4 separate regions of the Homo sapiens genome follow, and regions 1, 2 and 3 are each linked to region 4. The links are contacts of gene promoters, found by promoter capture Hi-C in human tissues and cell types (Jung and others, 2019). All regions are on one chromosome and are shown on one strand. Each heading gives the region's core, a stretch centred on a gene start or on the middle of the fragment in contact. The rest is flanking DNA. Distances are from core to core; before and after follow the strand shown.

Region 1 (2,751 bases), core at 233-2,732, 130 kb after region 4:
GGAGCCGAGAGTTTAGCACTTGTTTACAGTTGATGAAAAGATAGTTGCATTCAAAGGCGGTTGTTGGGTCCTTGGATAGTCTTGGATGTCTGCCACTATCTCTGGTGGGTGAAGGGATTGCTTGAATATCTAAGTCTGGAGATTTTAATGAATGACTAAGAAGGAATGAGAAGAAATTCTGAGGCTAGTTAGGTTCTGCAGTTGTTCTTTCCATGGGAGCAATATTGCAGTAACATTTTCAGATGAGACAAAGACTTTTAATAAACATTTGTTTTATTTTATTAAAAAAAAGCTGAAAGGGGTTGCTTAAATTCAGTGCTTGATAACAAGGGAATACATGGGAATTCTTCTCTTCCTTTTTTGAACTCTTGCCAAAGAGAAAACCTTCTGTGTTAGGCAAACGTATCAGTAGTGGGGGGATACCCTAGATTAAAGTCACTGTCTTCAAAGTTGTACATAGTTTTACAAATTAACTTTTTTTTTCTAAATATCTCACATATTCTTAGCATGCTGAGGCTATAATAACTCAGTTCTAACTGAGGCCCTTTCTGGGTACTCTTTGGTCAACCGGGACCACTCTTTGCCTCTTTACCTGAAGCTACTTTGTTTTTGTTTTATTTTGGTCCAGTATTTGTCATAGATATGATCTGAAAGAAAAGATAAGCCTCTCTCTTTGAAGAGAGCCGACAGTCATTGTGAACCAAAATTGAATGTGCTTTGTTGGTAAGCATAAGAAAATCAAAACTGCAAAATAAGATTCAAAGTGAAAATACAGTGTTAAAGATCTTTTTCATCTGTTAGTACAAAATTCCATGTCCTAAGTGTAGTCTGCCCTATAGATGTATTTTGTTTGACTTCCAGGATGTTTAAATAAAATCATGTTAGTTGTCAACATTTAAAATGTTCAAGATGGCCGGGCGTGGTGGCTCGCGCCTGTAATCCTAGCACTTTGGGAGGCTGAGGTGGGTGGATCACCTGAGGTCAGGAGTTCGAGACCAGCCTGGCCAACATGGTGAAACCCCATCTCCACTAAAAATACAAAATTACCTGGACGTGGTGGCGCATGCTTGTAATCCCAGCTACTTGGGAGGCTGATGGAGGCAGGAGAATTGCTTGAACCCTGGAGGTGGAGGCCGCAGTGAGCTGAGATTGCGTCATTGCACTCTAGCCTGGGTGACAAGAGCAAAACTGCATTTCAAAAAAACCCAAAAACGTTCAAGAGTTTCAAAAAACTTTGGATTTCTGGCTTTCTTGATAAATTGTAATATCTAACATTGAGCTCAGATTTTTATATGGCATCTCTTGGCTGGAACAGAGTAGTGGCTGCCTTCTTTATATGGATTGGGGACACGGTCTTTTGTCACCCAGGCTGGAGTGCAATGGTGCGATCATGGCTCACTGCAGCCTCGACCTCCTGGGCTCAAGCAGTTCTTCTCACCTCAGTCTCCCGAGTGGCTGGGACTATAGGCGCGCATTACCGCGGTGGGCTAATCTTTGTGTTTTTTTGTAGAGGTGGGGTTTCACCAGGTTGCTCAGGCTGGTTTCCAACTCCTAGACTCAAGCAATCCGCGCACCTCGGCTTCCCAGAGTGCTGAGATTACAGGTGTGAGCCACTGTGCTCAGCCTGCTGCCTTCTTTAAATGAGCGTATACTCTTAGGTTTTCACAGAACCTTGGTGGCCTCCTTTACCCATTTACGTTTCCTGCTAGTCTTCTGTAGGCATTTGAGTTTTCAGCTCCTACATTAAATAATTTTTAGGGATGATGAGAGTGTGGGAAAATGGGAACTCTTAAAAATGTAATCTGATACCTATTAAAACTGATAATGTGCAGGTTAATTTTTCAGACTTGGCAGTTTAAAATTTAAAAATATAAAATTTAAAATTACAGGCCAGGTGAGAGGTAGCTCACTCCTGTCATCCCAGCACTTTGTGGATCCCTTGAGCTCAGGTGTTTGAGACCAGCCTGGGCAACATGGCAAAACCTCATCTCTACAAAATATACAAAAATTAGCTGGGTGTGGCGGCACATGTCTGTAGTCCCAGCTACTTGGGAGGATCACTTGGTCCTGGGAGGTCGAGGCTACAGTGAGTTGTGATCGCACCACTGCACTCCAGCCTGGGCAACAGAGTGAGACCCTGTCTCCACCCTCCCCGCCACAAAAGAAAACTTAGATTGAACAATTCATACGTCTAGGAATTTATCCTAAATACTTGACAGTTATGAAAAATGTATGTTTACAGATGCTTCTTTTAGCATTTATAATAGTAAAAAAAATTGGATAACCAGGCGTGCTGGTGCATGCCTGTCATCCCAGCTACTGGGGATGCTGAGGTGGGAGGATCGCTTGAGCCCAGGAGGTGGAGGCTGCAGTGAGCCAAGATCGCGCCACTGTACTCCAGCCTGGGCAGCAGAACGAGACCCTGTCTTTAAAAAAAAAAAAAAAAAAAAAAAAAAAAGGTAACAATTTAAGTTTAATAGGGGACTCGATAAATGGATTGTGGTTATTCATGCAGTAGGATGCTGTAGACTTAAGGAGAAGGCAAATTTTTAGTCTGGAAGGTGATCCAATTTTAATAGTGGTGTTTTTGGGAAAATGAGATTACAGGGTATCTTTCATTATCTCTGAGTTTTCTGTTTTTAAGAACATCACATTATTAAGAAAAAAGACATGCATTTAAAAAATTCTCTCTCATTTTAGCTGCCAGATTTCCATGGCTATTCTGCCAAATTGAGCCAATAGGTTCTAGCT
Region 2 (2,872 bases), core at 238-2,737, 180 kb after region 4:
GAAACCCCGTCTCTACAAAAAAATACAAAAATTAGCTAGTATGGTGGTGCCCACCTGTAGTCCCAGCTACTTGTGGGGCTGAGGCAGGAGGATCACTTGAACATGAGAGGTTGAGGCTGCAGTGAGCTGAGATCAAGCCACTACACTCCAACCTGCGTGACAAAGTGAGACTCTGTCTCCAGAAGAAAGGAAATAGTAATAATAATTTGGAAGTAAAGCTTGGTAGTTACTATACTATTTTGACCATATATGAAAATTTGAAATATTTCATGATAGGAAACATAATCCTATCACTCTAAACATGTCAAATTATATATCTAGTTTATGAGCACTAAGGCCTTTTTTTTTCTTCTTTAACCTGTTATTTTTGAGATTTGGAATTTTTATGTTTTTCTTGGATGCCACTGGAGGGAAATAGAGAATGAAGTCTTGTTTGTGTGGTATCAGTTGTTGAAAGGGACAAACGCAGTTTTGATCTTGAAACTAGCTTATGTGTAAATTCTTTTCAGTCTTGAATATGAGTGAAGTAAAGGTAACCACTTAGCTCTGTTAAGTATATGATTGCTCTAGTCACGAATTTTAAAGGTTCTATCGTTCATAAGTTTGTCTAGTACTTACTGAGGACTTGCCATATATCTGATATTGTGAGAAGAACTGTCCCAAACGGTGACATTACTATTTCATTTTGCATTTGAGGTTACTGAGGATCTGGATACTTAAACTTCCAATGTCAGAATATAAACAAGAAAGTAATCATCACTCTATAAACTGATTCTTTATTGCCACAAATGGATTATCACTACTTTAGGAGAGATCCTGTTTTTGAAGTCTACTGTTTTAGAAGTCTTTTTAGAGCTTGTACTAAGTGGCCTTTAAAAATCTCATAATAATTTCTAACACTTTCTTAATAACTTGGCAGTATGGCTTTGTCATTTAAAACAAAATCTGGAGGAAAGGAAAATATTTATTTCCCTGTGGCATGAAAAGAGGCTATATGTAGGTCATTTTTTTTTTTAAATAAAAGGCAAGAAAGTCTCCCTCCAGACCACATCAGAACTATGCCAGCTTGGTACGGGGCCCTTACCAGAGTAATGATGTAAGAATCTGAGAGTACATAGTGCAGCTGCCAAAGCTCATAATGTTTAATTTCAGCACTGTCTGTTTGCCAGAGTTTGCAGCTCAATATTTTTTTCTGTATGGATCAAATTATAATCACATATATTTATCTTATTGGGGTAGGAGAAGTAAAGAGTTATTGTTTGATAAATTTGCCGTTTTCCTAGGGAATGGTGCTGTTTTGCCTGTCACATGCTTCTGAGCATTATTCCCCCACTGATTCCTAAGAACTTATTCTCCTGGGTGAATTCTTCTAACTTGTGACACAGAGGGGCAATTCACACCTTGCCTGTTTATATTTTGCAAGAAAACCCTTCTCTTAGCGTGGGTATCTATTCAGGCAGTTCCATGTGCTACATTCCATCCATTTGCCAAGTCTTGGACTCTTATCCAAAGTACAATATTTGAGTATACAATTACACCTACACGTACCGGCAAGAGCGTACTTTTTCCTAGCCTCTCTTGGAGAACGCTTGAAGCCAGAGGAGCAAATCCAGATGTTCTGGATTGAGTTTGGCACCTTCAATTGAGAATTCTAGATGGAAAGATTTCATTTGGAAGTGTACCAGGCTTGCCCAGCAGTTGCTTCCTGTTGCTAACCATCATATTTTTATGACCAAAGATTCTAGACTGCCTCCTTTGTTGAGCAGAAAGAATTACACACTAGGGCCACATGGGAAGTGGCTTCTCATCATTTGAGAGAAATATCAGCAGGCATGCAGAAGAGGGTAGCCTTGCTATTGGGAATAAATCTGGGTTGAGAGCAGGTACAACTACAGCTGCAGCTCTTTAGCCAGACCTGGCTTTATTTAAATTTCAAACAGAAATCTTTGACATCAACCTAAGTGAACCATTATTGGCTGTCTGCCACCTAACAGTACCTTGTACAAGGAGGAGGTGCTCTCTGACTGTATTCAGTCAACACTTATTGAACACCTTCTGTGTGTGCCAGGCAATGTGCTAGATGCTGGTGATGAATAAAGTATTTTTTCGAGAAGTTACAGTCTGGTAGGAGGCACAGACTCTTAGACAGATAAATTACAATTCACTGATTTTATTTGTTGCTTATACAATTTAGTATTTTGTTTGCTTTGTAAGTCAGCAACATAAGCCAGTCCACAGGATTAACTCCATAACTTTCTAAGTAAGAACAAGCATAGGATTTCCTTTCAGTTCTAAAGAATGTTTACTTGCTTGCATTTTTGCGTCTTTAGATACCTCTTCTGACTTGCCCAGGGATGAAGTTTGTGGAGTATGGGAAGAAAAGACTAGTATAAGGCAGGAAGGCATTTCTAAGAAAGCTTCCAGAATTGATTATTTTGTCCTAAGAGATGTTTTCTTCACTTAAAAATTATGTGAGAACGCACAAAGGTTAGCTGTGTTGGTTATCAGTTTGTTGTAAGGTAAGAGCAAGAAAAATCATTTTCCTCTATCTCTCTGGAATGTAGGACTCCTTTATCTGAGTGATTACATGGTTAAGGCGGAGCTAGAAAATACATTTCCTTCATACCTGTTTCTGGATGGATGAGGTCACATTTACTTAGTAGTTATATAGTTCCTGTGTTGTAATTTGCTATTCCTTCAGCCTTTTTTCCTCCCATTTTTGAAGATGGGTATATGAATATTTCCATTGGGCCTCTCTTAAATACAAGAAAAATATTAAGTTGCTTATGTCCAAATTCATTTCTTTGATGTGCAGCAGCCTCAAAGCATGTGTACCTCTGTTATTAAGATAATAATAGTTAATATTTATATA
Region 3 (2,767 bases), core at 215-2,714, 160 kb after region 4:
TTTAGATTTTTCTTTTGGCTTTGATTTCTCTTTCTGGTTCTTGTCTCATTACCCCATCACTTCTCCTTCCTAATTTGACAGGAAAGCCTTGTCAAATTAAGGCTTGCTTAATTGTCAAGGCTAATTTGACAAGACTCTTCTCTTACTGTCTTATTTGACTTTTGCTATGAGAATCTGCTTCTTCTTAGACTTAAGTGTATGATAAATTATTCATGACCAAGGGCCTTGTTTTTCTTTCTTTAACATGGGATTTAGTGGCTTATCTCATGTTACAGGATTTAGAGAGTTGATACTACATTTAAATTTTTTGTTAAGAAAAATGTACATCTTCTATCTCACTTAGGTGTTTTTCCTGTTTGAGGGACATGGTTTGCAAAGGTTAGAATGAATGAGCCTCATAGTTTTTGTCAAAAGAGAATATTGATGTACATCTGAATAATAACCAGAACATTCATATTAAGTCATACTATATAGCCATTTAAAAGAATGACGAGTACATAAAAGACTGTTGTGGAAGTCTATGATATATAGCTGAATAACAAAATAGATTATAGAACAATAGGTAAAAATGAGCTTATTTTTGTCTAAGCCACTCTCCCCCCAAAACATGCAAAATTACAGCTATTTATCTGTGTATGTATGGATAAAGGTCTTCAAGGATATAAAATAAATTCTAGTTATGATATTTATTATCTTAATAAGTTTATTATAATTATACATGTTTTCCTCCGAGGAAATGGATTGCAGATGATGATTGAAGGGATTTTCAATTTTTACTTTGTATATTTTTGTATTTGAATTTCTAAATAATAAGCATATGATTCTGTTTAGAAATTCTGAATGTACTGATTTTTAAAATGTGATGTGATATCCAGATATGTATTTAATTCTTCCTATAAAATATCATTTCCTTAAATCTAGACTATTGAAAAAGGAGAAAAGTACTAGGAATTTAGAGAACTTACTCCATGTTAGAACCAAGGAGAACAAGAAAAGCTTTAGCTAGTGTTTTGGAAATAGTAGCAGCTCCCACTCACAGCAGTAGCTGCTGCACTCAGGCGACTCTCTGCACATGCTTTTGCTTCCTTTGGGTTGTTTGGTCCGCAGTTTGCATTCATTGATCAGTGAGTTGATTCAGACTCAAACCCACCGACAGCAATGAATGTTGAGTGCAGCCATCAGTGTTTTCAGTTGGTGGGGTTGCCTTTGCCCTCCCTGGCTGACTCCTGGCTCTTCTTTTCCATCTCAGTTCTTTGAAGTCTGTGTGTCTGGCTTCTCCCTTAGTAACCAGCCATCTGCATGATTGAGGGCCCACACAGGTGTCCATAACATTGACATTGGAGCTGGGAGGTTATTGCAGATGAGGAAGCTGTGGTTCAGAGAAGGAAGGAGTGCTTGGAGAACCTCACAGGTAGCACTGCGCCACACAGGCAGTGCTTGCATATTAGTACCTGTAAACCACAGCTGAGGGACCTGCTTTTCCTCTTTGTTTTGAACTGAGAAGTATGAGTGCTTTTTTGAGGTAAATTAGCAGATTATGTTGGAGTTTAATAATAACAGCTTACATATATTGAGCATTTGCTGTGGGCTAGTAATGGTACAAAGCACCTTATATATTATCTCATTGAGTCTCAAAACTCCATGATAGGTACTCTTAGCCTCTGTTTTATATGTGAGAAAACTGAGACACTTGCTTAGGGGGTCAAATAACTAGTTAAGGGCTTGAGCCAAGATTCATCCCAGATCTGACTGACTCCAGGGCTAAGTTTTTGCTTGAATTTAGCAAACATTTAAATAAGCATATGTGGGGATATGTGGGCACTAGTAAGGCAATAGCTCATGCTCTAACTGGGATATCAAAAATTAACCATATTAACTATAATTCAAAGTGAAATGTGATAAGAACTGTCACAATTGGATAATTTTGTGCTATTTTTGCTTATTAAATCCTCCCCTTGCCCCTAATTAAAAATTTTGAGAGGATGTGGGAGAAATGGGAGTAATTATTTAACTGGATTTTATTCCAAAACAAAATACGTATTTTTAATAAATTTTTACTTGCTACGTCCTGTTTCTCACCAGAATGGTGCATATCTAGGAGACATGTAGGTACATTAGATATCATCATGGACTGCTCCTTACCTTGTTGAAATGAAACACTTTTTTTGTAAAAACAAACAAATAATAATAAAACACACAACAGAAAGCAAGGAACAGTGAGCAGTAGGAATAAAATTCACTGGACCACATTTGGGGGATTGCAGGACCATTTCTGGTGAACTCATGTGACATGTGAAGGTACAGCTTGCTCTTTTGCTTCAGGAAATGTAGTGTCGTCTGTAAGGACCCCAAGGTACAGTCAACGGTCAGTGGTTTTTTCAAATCCCAAACTCACCGACAGCGTTGAATGTTCCTTGGAGTCCTCTGAAGGCTGGCCTGATAGCCCTTCTTCATTCTCCCATCCACATCCCAAGAACCAGTGAGCAGTGAGACCACCGCTGATGGATGCTCTTACATTCCTCTCTGGGTTTCAAGTCGAGAGTATTTAAATTATAAAATCAATTTGTGTGCAGCAGAGAACTAATGAACTGTGGGATAGACTGTGCAGTAATTTGTACAAGCAGACTCAAATGAATGTCTGAGAAAATGTCTTTGAATGGTATTATTTTGTGATTCTAAAAATGTAAAATACCTGATTTTGCAGTAGTATTTTAATTGTTAACAAGGGTAAGAGATTAACATATATTGGGGATCTGCTATATACTAG
Region 4 (2,838 bases), core at 244-2,743:
CTGCAAGAGGAAGAGCTCTGGAGATTGGTGTCACGACAATGTGAAGGTACTGGATTCTCTGAACTGTACACTTAAAAATGGACACAACAAAGCCGGTGCAGTGGCTCACGCCTTTAATCCCAGCACTTTGGGAGGCCGAGGTGGGTGGATCACGAGGTCAGGAGTTCAAGACCAGCCTGGCCAAGATGGTGAAACCCCGTCTCTACTAAAGATACAAAAAAATTAGCTGGGTGTGGTAGCAGGTGTCTATAATTCCAGCTACTCGAGAGGCTGAGGCAGAGAATTGCTTGAACCCAGGAGGCGGGGGTTGCAGTGAGCCGAGGTTGTCCAGCCTGGGTGACAGAGAGCGACTCTGTCACACACAAAAAAGGATGCAACAGTAAGTATTACTGTGTTACATTACAGTTGTTTTTGTATGTATGTGTGTGTGTGTGTGTGTTTTTAAAGAAGGCTGAGTCCAGGCCTGTTAGAGTCTAAGCCCCAGCACCCAGATATCTCGTCCCATCTCCCAACCTGCCCAGCCCTGCCTTGCACCCGTGCCCAGCTCATCGGAGGTCACTGCAGTCAGCTCTGCAGCATGCCAGACCCTTGTGCCTCGGTCTTCCCGGCCAGGTGTGGGAGCCCCACCTGTGTGGCCACCCAGCCTCCACAGCAGCTGCCCACTCCGGGTCTCCCAGCCATACACGCAGCCATCTTCTGAGCCTGTGAGCAGCATCTGGCCATCAGGGGAGAAGGCAGAAGAGTTGACCTAGAAACAGCACAAAAGCGGTCCCATTCTGGGGAAGAAACCCCTGTCCGCTCATCTCTGACCCCTAAACACTGCCCCCCAAGAGCCTGGGGTTGGAGCTTGACTTCAAGCCTCACTCCACCACCAGAGCCCAGAACCCGGGACCCACTGGGCCCTCTCTCGAGTCCCGTAAAGCCAGAGCCTGCAGTTGGAGGCAAGAGCCTTCTCTGGAACCAGAGCCTGGAACCCCAGAGCTAAGAGCCCATTCCAGAGCCGCAGCTGACAACGGAGAGTCCAGAATCTACTCTAAGTTCTGAGTTCACTTTAGAGCCAGGGCCCCAGAAAACACCAGAGTCAGCAGGGAGCTTTGTGCCCCTCTCGAGGCAGAGCCCAGAGCCCGGGGCTCTTTTTACAGGCAGAGCTTAGAACCTAGAGCTGCTCTGGAGCTGGGGCCCGGCACTGGAGCTGAGAACCTACTTCGATCCTTCTTGGGTTAGCAAAGTCTACTCTGGACTCAATGTCCTGAGCCACTGCCCAGAGAACATTCTGGAACCCCCACTACACAGAACCAGGAACCACTCTGCATCCAAAGCCGGGAGTCTGGGCAGAGCCCGCTGGACCTCACCTCCCCGCCGTGCTGGCCGAAGAATTTCACTCTCCGCACGGCCAGCGTGGCCGGGACCCCGCTGTTCATGGGCACCCGGCCCCGCCCCGCCCCGGCGGGCTCCCTCCTAGGCGGCCGCGGGACCCCAGGACTGGGCAGAGGAAAGAGGAAACTGTGTACAGGCGGTCTCCATGGTAATCGGGGCGGGGCGTGCGGCCATGGTGGGGTCCCTGCGAAGCCACGAGGACTGACAGGCAGGCCAGACCGCTTGCAGTTCGGCGGAGGTGGAGCCGCAGCAGGCGGGACCGCGGCGGGCTGGGAGAAGGGACTTCCCGCGCCAGCGGCTGCGCGTCCACTCTAGGGCAGCTCTCGCGCGGGGCAACACGGCAGGCAGAGCGGCCACTAGAGGGCGCGCCAGCCACACGCACCGCGCGGCCCAGAGCCCGGCCCCGCGCCCTGCGGACTGCGAACTGCAAGGGGTCCCTGCACCTCTTTGATACAGGGGAGCAACGAGCCTGTCTCCCCATCTGCACAACCGGGAGCATCAGCCCTGCCCCACAGGACTCCAGGGGTGAGCCAAGCACAGGGCCTGGCACACGGTAGATGCCCAAGAGGGCCCCCTCAGGAGCCAATACCCCTTCCGTCCAGGAGTGGCCAGTACTGAGGTTAAGGATGTCCCAGGAGAGCGCTGGGGACAGTAGCCAGCTCTGTCCTCCAGGGCGTGGAAGCCAGAGGTAGTGTGTGTAAAGTACATGGCATTAAAAGTGGGGTCACGTTGCTGTTAACATTCCTGGCAGCACAAAATGTGCCATCTGAGGATGGGGTGGAGGCTGGGGCTGGGGGGCAGTTGCCCAGGAGCTGCCAGGATCCTTACCGGATAGCGCAATCTGAAGCTTGGAACGAGCAGGACTTGGTTTCATTGTTAATTTACAGGTGAAGAAACTCACCCGGAGAGCTGGGAGGACTTGCTCAGAGCCACTCAGCCAGTAGGAGTGGAACTGGGATTTCAGCCCATGGCTGTCTGACTCTGGGTGTCTGTACTGGGACCACCTGCCATGAACTCCAGGGACCTCTCAGCAGATGTTGAGGTCCGCAACTCCTGGTACATCTGGGAAACTGAGGTCCGAAGGGGGCAGGACTTGGCCCAGCCATCTAGCCGGTGCTTCCATGGCAGAGCTGGGGCAGGACCCAGTCTCCCCACTCCCACAGCAGGACAGGGAGGGAACAGAGGACCCCCCACCTGCCCCGCCCATGGATTCTAGGCTCCCTGGGGGCAGGGGTGGAGCAGCTGGGCTTTGGGAGCTTCAAACTCAAGAGTTCCCAGCGGCGACTCACACCCTCCCCCCCTAAACCTCTTTGCCAGAAACTTCTCAGGAGATCCGCTGTGCTCCTGCTATTTTAAGTCCCAGACAGTCAGGCGGGTGAGGGAGCGACAATGACAGCTTTGAGGCAGTCCCACTCCATCCCAGATCCCAGAGGGCCTAGGTCACTGTGGGACCCTTCTGAG

Evidence for each region. The method cuts DNA at HindIII sites, captures the fragments that hold promoters and counts their contacts. A contact is called where the count stands out against the background at its distance.
Region 1: a fragment that was not itself captured here is called in contact with the fragment with the promoter of WDR38 in region 4 in 1 of the 25 tissues and cell types used here (IMR-90 fibroblasts).
Region 2: a fragment that was not itself captured here is called in contact with the fragment with the promoter of WDR38 in region 4 in 1 of the 25 tissues and cell types used here (mesenchymal stem cells).
Region 3: a contact is called between a fragment that was not itself captured here and the fragment with the promoter of WDR38 in region 4, in 1 of the 25 tissues and cell types used here (H1 embryonic stem cells).

What each region holds. Positions count from the first base shown.
Region 1 is chr9:124,718,511-124,721,261 of GRCh38, reverse strand. The region is part of intron 2 of NR6A1 (nuclear receptor subfamily 6 group A member 1); the gene reads left to right. It overlaps LOC124902269 (a long non-coding RNA gene), which reads left to right. Exons shown (of 2, transcript XR_007061772.1): 1 at 1-2,751. Among named protein-coding and RNA genes, the nearest start is that of MIR181B2, 26 kb to the right of the region's middle. RefSeq lists an enhancer at 1-298. The HindIII fragment of the contact is 6,352 bases long and covers 1-2,751 here.
Region 2 is chr9:124,674,584-124,677,455 of GRCh38, reverse strand. The region is part of intron 2 of NR6A1 (nuclear receptor subfamily 6 group A member 1); the gene reads left to right. The region is part of intron 1 of MIR181A2HG (MIR181A2 host gene); the gene reads right to left. Among named protein-coding and RNA genes, the nearest start is that of MIR181A2, 16 kb to the left of the region's middle. The HindIII fragment of the contact is 3,220 bases long and covers 1-2,872 here.
Region 3 is chr9:124,692,125-124,694,891 of GRCh38, reverse strand. The region is part of intron 2 of NR6A1 (nuclear receptor subfamily 6 group A member 1); the gene reads left to right. All of the region lies in intron 1 of MIR181A2HG (MIR181A2 host gene), which reads right to left. MIR181A2 (microRNA 181a-2) reads right to left here and starts at 2,450; the gene lies at 2,341-2,450. MIR181B2 (microRNA 181b-2) reads right to left here and starts at 1,182; the gene lies at 1,094-1,182. The HindIII fragment of the contact is 6,533 bases long and covers 1-2,767 here.
Region 4 is chr9:124,852,115-124,854,952 of GRCh38, reverse strand. It overlaps WDR38 (WD repeat domain 38), which reads right to left and starts at 1,493. Exons shown (of 9, transcript NM_001045476.3): 1 at 1,353-1,493; 2 at 628-748. The coding sequence starts at 1,421. RefSeq lists a silencer at 1,392-1,441. The HindIII fragment of the contact is 15,289 bases long and covers 1-2,838 here.